Linked DNA regions of Homo sapiens: all the other regions are linked to region 1. The links are contacts of gene promoters, found by promoter capture Hi-C in blood cells and fetal thymus (Javierre and others, 2016). All regions are on one chromosome and are shown on one strand. Each heading gives the region's core, a stretch centred on a gene start or on the middle of the fragment in contact. The rest is flanking DNA. Distances are from core to core; before and after follow the strand shown.

The links. Contacts are between HindIII fragments. The CHiCAGO score rates a contact against its expected background, and 5 or more counts as called.
Region 2: the fragment with the promoter of NPPA here is called in contact with the fragment with the promoter of CIROZ in region 1 in 4 of 17 cell types (naive B cells, non-activated CD4 T cells, total B cells and 1 more); the score reaches 8.2 in naive B cells.
Region 3: a fragment that was not itself captured here is called in contact with the fragment with the promoter of CIROZ in region 1 in 2 of 17 cell types (M2 macrophages and endothelial precursors); the score reaches 5.1 in M2 macrophages.

What each region holds. Positions count from the first base shown.
Region 1 is chr1:10,980,771-10,983,417 of GRCh38, reverse strand. It overlaps CIROZ (ciliated left-right organizer protein containing ZP-N domains), which reads left to right and starts at 1,342. Exons shown (of 13, transcript NM_001170754.2): 1 at 1,342-1,406. The coding sequence starts at 1,381. The HindIII fragment of the contact is 7,392 bases long and covers 1-2,647 here.
Region 2 is chr1:11,846,435-11,849,081 of GRCh38, reverse strand. NPPA (natriuretic peptide A) reads left to right here and starts at 1,299. Exons shown (of 3, transcript NM_006172.4): 1 at 1,299-1,520; 2 at 1,643-1,969. The coding sequence starts at 1,398. It also overlaps NPPA-AS1. RefSeq lists an enhancer at 473-2,263. The HindIII fragment of the contact is 12,440 bases long and covers 1-2,647 here.
Region 3 is chr1:11,617,149-11,619,795 of GRCh38, reverse strand. No RefSeq gene overlaps it. Among named protein-coding and RNA genes, the nearest start is that of LINC01647, 8.9 kb to the right of the region's middle. The HindIII fragment of the contact is 950 bases long and covers 820-1,769 here.

The DNA of each region.
Region 1 (2,647 bases), core at 93-2,592:
GTATGTGTCCGTGCCCTAATCTCCTCTTCCTTTTTTTTTTTTTTTTTGAGACGGAGTCTTATTGTATCGCCCAGGCTGGAGTGCAATGGCACGATCTCAGCTGTCTGCAATCTCTGCCTTCCAGGTTCAAGCGATTCTCCTGCCTCAGCCTCCAGAGTAGCTGGGATTACAGGTGCCCACCACCAAGCCCGGCTATTTTTTGTATTTTTGGTAGAGACAGGGTTTCACCATGTTGGCCAGGCTGGTCTCAAACTCCTGACCTGATGATCCACCCACCTCAGCCTCCCAAAGTGCTAGGATTACAGGCGTGAGTCACTGCGCCTGGTCTTTTTTTTTTTTTTTTTTTTTTTTTTTTTTTTTTTTTTTTTTTTTAGACGGAGTTTTGCTCTTGTCACCCAGGCTGCAGTACAATGGTACGATCTTGGCTCACTGCAACCTCCATCTCCCGGGTTCAAGCAATTCTCCTGCCTTAACTTCCCAAGTAGCTGGGATTACAGGCGTGCACCCCCACACCTGGCTAGTTTTGTATTTTTAGTAGAGATAAGGTTTCACCATGTTGGCCAGGCTGGTCTCGAAGTCCTGACATCAGGTGATCAGCCTGCCTCGCCCTCCCAAATCACTGGGATTATGGGCATGAGTGACTGTGCCCGGCCCCTTTTTTTTTTTTTTTTAGACAGGGTCTTGTTCTGTTGCCCAGGCTGGAGTGCAGTAGCACAATCAGGGCTCACTGCAGCCTCAACCTCCTGGGCTCAAGCAATCCTCTCACCTCAGCCTCCTGAGTAGCTAGGACCACAGGTGTGTGCCACCATGCCCAGCTAGTTTTTAAATTTTTTGTAGAGACAGGGTCTTGCCATGTTCCCCTGGCTTGTTTCGAACTCCTGACCTCAAACAATCTGCCCATCTCTGCATCCCAAAATGCTGGGGTTACAGGCATGAGCCACCATGCCTGGCCCCTCAGCTCCTTTTGAACTCTGCCAGGAGGGGCCTGGAGCAGGGTTCTGGGAAGCCCCATCAAGACAGCGTGACTGTTCCTCCGGTGAAGCTCAGTTTCTTAGCTTCTTTCCTTCCTTGGGCACAGAGACAGGCTTCTCCCGGGAGCGGAGAATGAGGGCCTGCACTCCAGCCTCAGTGGATCAATTCATCTTCAGCCTTCTGATCCGCAATCTTATTTTGAGCTCCCACGGCTGAAGCAATTCATCTCACCCATGCAGAGGGATGGGGAGAAGCTGAGAGTGTTGACACCCACCTGTGTTTTCTGGCACCTGAGTGACCCGAGACCTGCACTGGAGGGGAAGGGGAGGAGCCAACCTTTCGTTTAGTTGCTTGGAACTGCTTCAGATTAAATTCTCCCAGGGCAGGAGAGAGCTGCTGGGCCTGAGGATGTGGGGGTCCCCAGCACTTGCCTGGTAAGTGTCCCTTATTCAGGAATTGGGAGAAGCCAGTGGCATGCTTAGTGTGCCCACACTCCTTGAAGAAGCCAAATATCTTCCATCAGAATCAGAAGCCTTGCATCTAAGAGGGAAGGGGGCCAAATGGGTGAGGGGCCCAGATGCATGGATGCCTTGGGAAGGGCTGACTTTCTCAGGTGAGGTCCGGCCACAGTCTCTCCCACCTTTCTCATGCTCCTGTCATCCCTTGTTCTGGAATTCCAGTCCTCCCATCTTGGGAAGGATTTCCAGAAGATTGGGAGAAAACAGAACACGTCTTCCTTGTCCTAGAGGGTCCTTAAAACAAAACAAATTAGGGGTCAAGTTGACCAAGAGATGCTTGATTTCAAGGAGTTTTCAAATGATAGGAGTTGTGGTCGCTAGCTATTCGATTGTAAGGATTAGGAGAAAATTTCATTTTCCTTCCTTCCCTCCCTTCCTTCCTTCCCTCCCTGCCTTCCTTCCTTTCTCCTTCCTTCCTTCCCTTTCCTTTCTTTTCTCTTTCTCTCTCTCTCTCCCTCTCTGTCTCTCCTTCTTCCTGAGATAGAGTCTTGCTCTGTTGCCCAGGCTGGAGTGCAGTGGCAAGATCATAGTTCACTGTCATCTCTTAACTCCTGGGCTCAAGTGATCATCCCACTTTAGCCTCCTGAGTAGCTGGGACCATAGGCATGTGCCACCACACTTTGGTAATTTTTTAATTTTTTTGTAGAGACAGGGTCTTACTGTGTTGCCCAGGCTGGTCTTAAACTCCTGGGTTCAAGCCATCCTCCTGTCTCGGCCTCCCAAAGTATTGGGATTACGGGCATGACTCACTGCACTTGGCCAAAATCTCATTTTCCTTGGCAACAGAATTGCTACCTCTTTTCCCCATCTGAGATGCATTTTTAAGAGATACTTTAAAAAGCTCCTGAGAGTGGGAAGTGAAGCCTCCCAGGCCAGCTGGAATGTCACAATAGCTGGCTTGTGGCCTTTGGGCCGTGGACTGCAGGGCTTTTGTTGGGCGTTTTGTGAGGTTGAAGTCTGTAGACAATGAAGGCAGTGGAGAAGCTGAGTGGGGCTTTGTGGGGCTGGGCGAGCAAGGGGGAGGTCCGGGCCCTGTCCTGGGGACCCATTGCCTTCTCCTGGATGCCCCATGAGGGGGCTCAGCTTTGGGGGATGGAGCATCATGTCTCCCCCCAGACTGGGATGGGGCAGTTCTGGGTCTGAGAAGTGAGGGGGAA
Region 2 (2,647 bases), core at 50-2,549, 870 kb before region 1:
TGATCCACCCACCTTAGCCTCCCAAAGTGCTGGGATTATACGTGTGAGCCACTGCACCCGGCCGGTTTTTAACATTCTTTCTCATTTTACACACAAGGAAAGTAAGGCTGCGAAGAGGTATGCAACTGGTTTGTTTTGGGCTACAGTACTGGTCTCTCAGCCCTTCAAATTTAGAGTTTTCCCCCAGTATACGTTGCATTGAATGGTAATGGCTAACACTGAGTTCAGTGCTTAGCAAACAGGCCATTCATTAAACATAGACAGACTTGCTGCCTGTTATTTCCCTTTTGGGGGCCAGGGAAATTGTGACCTTGGTGGCTCGGTCACTTGCCACTTGCCACGTCCTCAGGGAAGGATGTAGAAGGCATTGAGGGAAACTGACTATACCTCCTTCACCCCCACCTCCCTTCCTCCATCGGTCAAGTTGCCACGGGCACAAGCCCAGGAAGGGCAGGGGGATGTTAACAAACTTCAGACACGAAGAGTCTGAGCATCTATAAACAGCAACGGAAGAAATGAAATTGGCTGCGTCCTCTAAGCCTGTCCCCGCAGCATGCTGGAGGAGGGTCGCGGGGGACATGGAAGAGGAGGAGCTTTGGAGAGAGGATGCTTGTGCTCCCCCGCCTTTTCTTGCTATTTCTATTTGGGGGTTGGATTCCTGGGAGCTTCATCACATTTGGTTCTCAGCTGACTTTATATACTAAAAAATAACTTCCTTTCGCCTGACCATGGAGAGGGACTGCCAGGGGTGAAGGCAGCCCTGTCTGAGGCCAGAGGTCTGCCCACGTGGCGGATGAGGCAGGTGTGAGGCCAGCTTGAGCATCTGGATCCATTTGTCTCGGGCTGCTGGCTGCCTGCCATTTCCTCCTCTCCACCCTTATTTGGAGGCCCTGACAGCTGAGCCACAAACAAACCAGGGGAGCTGGGCACCAGCCAAGCGTCACCCTCTGTTTCCCCGCACGGGTACCAGCGTCGAGGAGAAAGAATCCTGAGGCACGGCGGTGAGATAACCAAGGACTCTTTTTTACTCTTCTCACACCTTTGAAGTGGGAGCCTCTTGAGTCAAATCAGTAAGAATGCGGCTCTTGCAGCTGAGGGTCTGGGGGGCTGTTGGGGCTGCCCAAGGCAGAGAGGGGCTGTGACAAGCCCTGCGGGATGATAACTTTAAAAGGGCATCTCCTGCTGGCTTCTCACTTGGCAGCTTTATCACTGCAAGTGACAGAATGGGGAGGGTTCTGTCTCTCCTGCGTGCTTGGAGAGCTGGGGGGCTATAAAAAGAGGCGGCACTGGGCAGCTGGGAGACAGGGACAGACGTAGGCCAAGAGAGGGGAACCAGAGAGGAACCAGAGGGGAGAGACAGAGCAGCAAGCAGTGGATTGCTCCTTGACGACGCCAGCATGAGCTCCTTCTCCACCACCACCGTGAGCTTCCTCCTTTTACTGGCATTCCAGCTCCTAGGTCAGACCAGAGCTAATCCCATGTACAATGCCGTGTCCAACGCAGACCTGATGGATTTCAAGGTAGGGCCAGGAAAGCGGGTGCAGTCTGGGGCCAGGGGGCTTTCTGATGCTGTGCTCACTCCTCTTGATTTCCTCCAAGTCAGTGAGGTTTATCCCTTTCCCTGTATTTTCCTTTTCTAAAGAATTTGCTGGACCATTTGGAAGAAAAGATGCCTTTAGAAGATGAGGTCGTGCCCCCACAAGTGCTCAGTGAGCCGAATGAAGAAGCGGGGGCTGCTCTCAGCCCCCTCCCTGAGGTGCCTCCCTGGACCGGGGAAGTCAGCCCAGCCCAGAGAGATGGAGGTGCCCTCGGGCGGGGCCCCTGGGACTCCTCTGATCGATCTGCCCTCCTAAAAAGCAAGCTGAGGGCGCTGCTCACTGCCCCTCGGAGCCTGCGGAGATCCAGCTGCTTCGGGGGCAGGATGGACAGGATTGGAGCCCAGAGCGGACTGGGCTGTAACAGCTTCCGGGTAAGAGGAACTGGGGATGGAAATGGGATGGGATGGACACTACTGGGAGACACCTTCAGCAGGAAAGGGACCAATGCAGAAGCTCATTCCCTCTCAAGTTTCTGCCCCAACACCCAGAGTGCCCCATGGGTGTCAGGACATGCCATCTATTGTCCTTAGCTAGTCTGCTGAGAAAATGCTTAAAAAAAAAAGGGGGGGGGGCTGGGCACAGTGGCTCACGCCTGTAATCCCAGCACTTTGGGAGGCCGAGGCAGGCGGATCATGAGGTCAAGAGATCAAGACTATCCTGGCCAACATGGTGAAACCCCAGCTCTACTAAAAATACAAAAATTAGCTGGGTGTGGTGGCGGGCACCTGTACTCTCAGCTACTTGGGAGGCTGAGGCAGGAGAATCACTTGAACCCAGGAGGCAGAGGTTGCAGTGAGCAGAGATCACGCCACTGCAGTCCAGCCTAGGTGATAGAGCGAGACTGTCTCAAAAAAAAAAAAAAAAGGCCAGGCACGGTGGCTCACGCCTGTAATCCCAGCGCTTTGGGAGGCCAAGGCGGGTGGATCACGAGGTCAGGAGATGGAGACCATCCTGGCTAACACGGTGAAACCCCGTCTCTACTAAAAATACAAAAAATTAGCCAGGCGTGGTGGCAGGCGCCTGTAAGTCCTAGCTACTCCGGAGGCTGA
Region 3 (2,647 bases), core at 45-2,544, 640 kb before region 1:
AGCCGAGATTGCGCCATTGCACTCCAGCCTGGGTGACAGGAGCAAAACTCCGCCTCAAAAAAAAAAAAAAAAAAAAAAAGACAGATTATTACACTCACAGATCCCAAGAGGAGCGGGCTTGTCCAGCCATGAGGGGGCACATAGGGGCAGTCAGGAGGTAGAGGGAGGGGGAAATCGTGGGCAAGAACATTTATTGTGGTATCCATGAGAAGGAACGAATGAGGCAGAGCAAGCCGGCTTAGGGTTGGCTAGTTTGAATAATTTCAGTGCATTCTGGGCCACAAGGGCTGCCCCTAGTTGTCTGGTAGATGACCCTGGAGTGATCAGGGCAGGTGGATAGTGGTCCAAAGTGTGAGAGCCAATAAAGGAGGTAGTTGCTGGTATAGACTCTGGATTGGTTGGTTTGCATTTTCAAAGCAAATGGGCTCATGGGCAAGTTGGTTACTATCTCTAAGAATTTACCAGCTCTTAACCCTCCAGGGTCACAAAGCCCCAGATGTCAAAGTATCAGAACACAGAAAATAAAAGGCATGCTTGATAAAGGAGGGGTTGGTTGACTGGTCGAAGGTCACGCAGCTTGGGAGTGAAAGAGCCCAGGTGTTTTGACTCTCGGTCCAGGACATGCCCCTGTGATCTTCAGGTGGCTTCTCCCGAGATCCCATGCCTTCCTTATGGACAAGGGCCTCCCTAGACCGTCACAGGGGCTGAGGGCAATGAAATGTTCTGCTTCCCACTTTCTGCCCCCAAACAGGTGTGTCCCAGGACCCTAGTCAGCACTGTTTTGGTTGCAAGTGACAAAAACCCCACCTTAAACAAGCTTAAGTCAAAAAGTGAGTTTATTGGCTCACATAACTGGGTGCTCAGGGTTTCCCAGTTTCAGGAAAGGCTAGATCCAGGAGCCCAAATGCTATTGTCAGGACATCATCTGTTTTGCGTATCTGGAGTCTGCGTCCCTTCAGGTGTTCTCACAAAGCCTTTCTCCACGTGTTAGGGAAGAAGGCCAATGGTAGCCCCGAACCCCTATAACTCATTACCCAAAAGGAAGAGAGATCTTCCTTGCTGGGTTCAGGTGTCAAATCTCTGATTGATCTTCTTGGGTCAGGTGTTTTTTTTTTTTTTTTTGAAACAGAGTCTTGCTCTGTCGCCCAGGGTGGATTGCAGTGGTATGATCTTAGCTCACTGCAACCTCCGCCTCCCCGGGTTCAAGCGATTCTCCTGCCTCAGCCTCCTGAGCAGCTGGGATTACAGCCACGTGCTACCATGCCAAGCTAATTTTTGTATTTTTAGTAGAGACGGGGTTTCACCATATTGGCCAGGCTGGTCTCAAACTTCCGACCTCAGATGATCCATCTGTCTCGGCCTCCCAAAGTTCTGGGATTACAGGCGTGAGCCACCACACCCAACCCATGGTGTTCATTCTTGAGCCAATCAGTGTGATCAGGGGGATTAGAATTCTGGGCAGCCTGGCCTGATCTCACACCCACGAAGTGTGTGTGTGTGTATGTCTGTGTGTGTCTGTATGTGCATGAGTGTGTGTGTGTTCCCGTGACTATGTTTTGTAGAGCATTGTGACTAAGCCCTACCAGGACCTCATGGAATGGGGGAGAGACAGGCAGAAACAGGCAGTATCTGCCCCCAATTCAATGTTCTTCATTCCTATCCACCAATTTTCCACAAAGGTCTTGCTCTGTGCCAAGGACGACTTCCTGCCCTGAGCTGGAAGGACTTTCTTGCCATCTTCCCAAAATGTCTTAACAGAAGGGCAAGCTTCCTGGTCTAGGAGTTGGGACACTGGGGTTTGGGTCATAGCACTGTCACTGAGTCACTCTGTGACCCAGGACAAGCCCCCTAAGCCTCAGTGTTCCTGTCTGGACAATGGGTGGGCTAGACTAGAAGGTCTTTAAACTGCCTCCAAGTTTGACCCTCTGTGAGTGAAGTGCTTGCTCTGAGCAAAGAGAGGTTCCGAAGCCTGCTTGCCAGGATGATGTGGGTGGGAACAGGGCTGTTAAAATACAGATTCCTAGACCCTCCCCAGGACCAGTTGGATCACACTCTCTTCGGAGCAGGACCCTGGAAGCTATTATTTTTGAGGAGTGATTCCGTTGTAGCTGGTTCACAACCTGGTGCTTGGGAACTACGGCCTAAGAAATCTGGTCCCTTGAAAGGGACAATGAACGAACTGGCTCTTTGAGGCATCTGGGCTTGTTGGCTCTGCTAGCCTAAAGCTAACAGGGTGTGTCCTGCATACAGTTGGCAAGAGACAGTAGCTGCTGAGCCAGACTGGCCCAAGAGCCTCCTGGTGGTGACTGCCCTGTGTTCTCACGTAGCAGGTGGCCTCTATGGGGACCTGGCCCTGCCAGCTGGCAGAGCATCTCGGAGCTGAGAGCTCTTCCTGGGACACTGGCAGGAGGTCTCACTCCATGCTGTTGTTGGGGATGAGATTTGGGGAAGAGATGTGCGTGCTGGCTTGGGATGGGGACCGGAGGCTGTGGGGCAGGCTGCTTAAGTCTAGTGGGGAGGGGAGCAGGGTGTGGCCTTGGGCAAGTCAGGTCATCCTCTTTGGGGCATCTGTCCTCCCACCTGTCCAGTGGGTTTGTAGCTTGGACCTTCTGAGTCTGCTTTAGTCCGTCGAGAGGGCTCTGCGGGA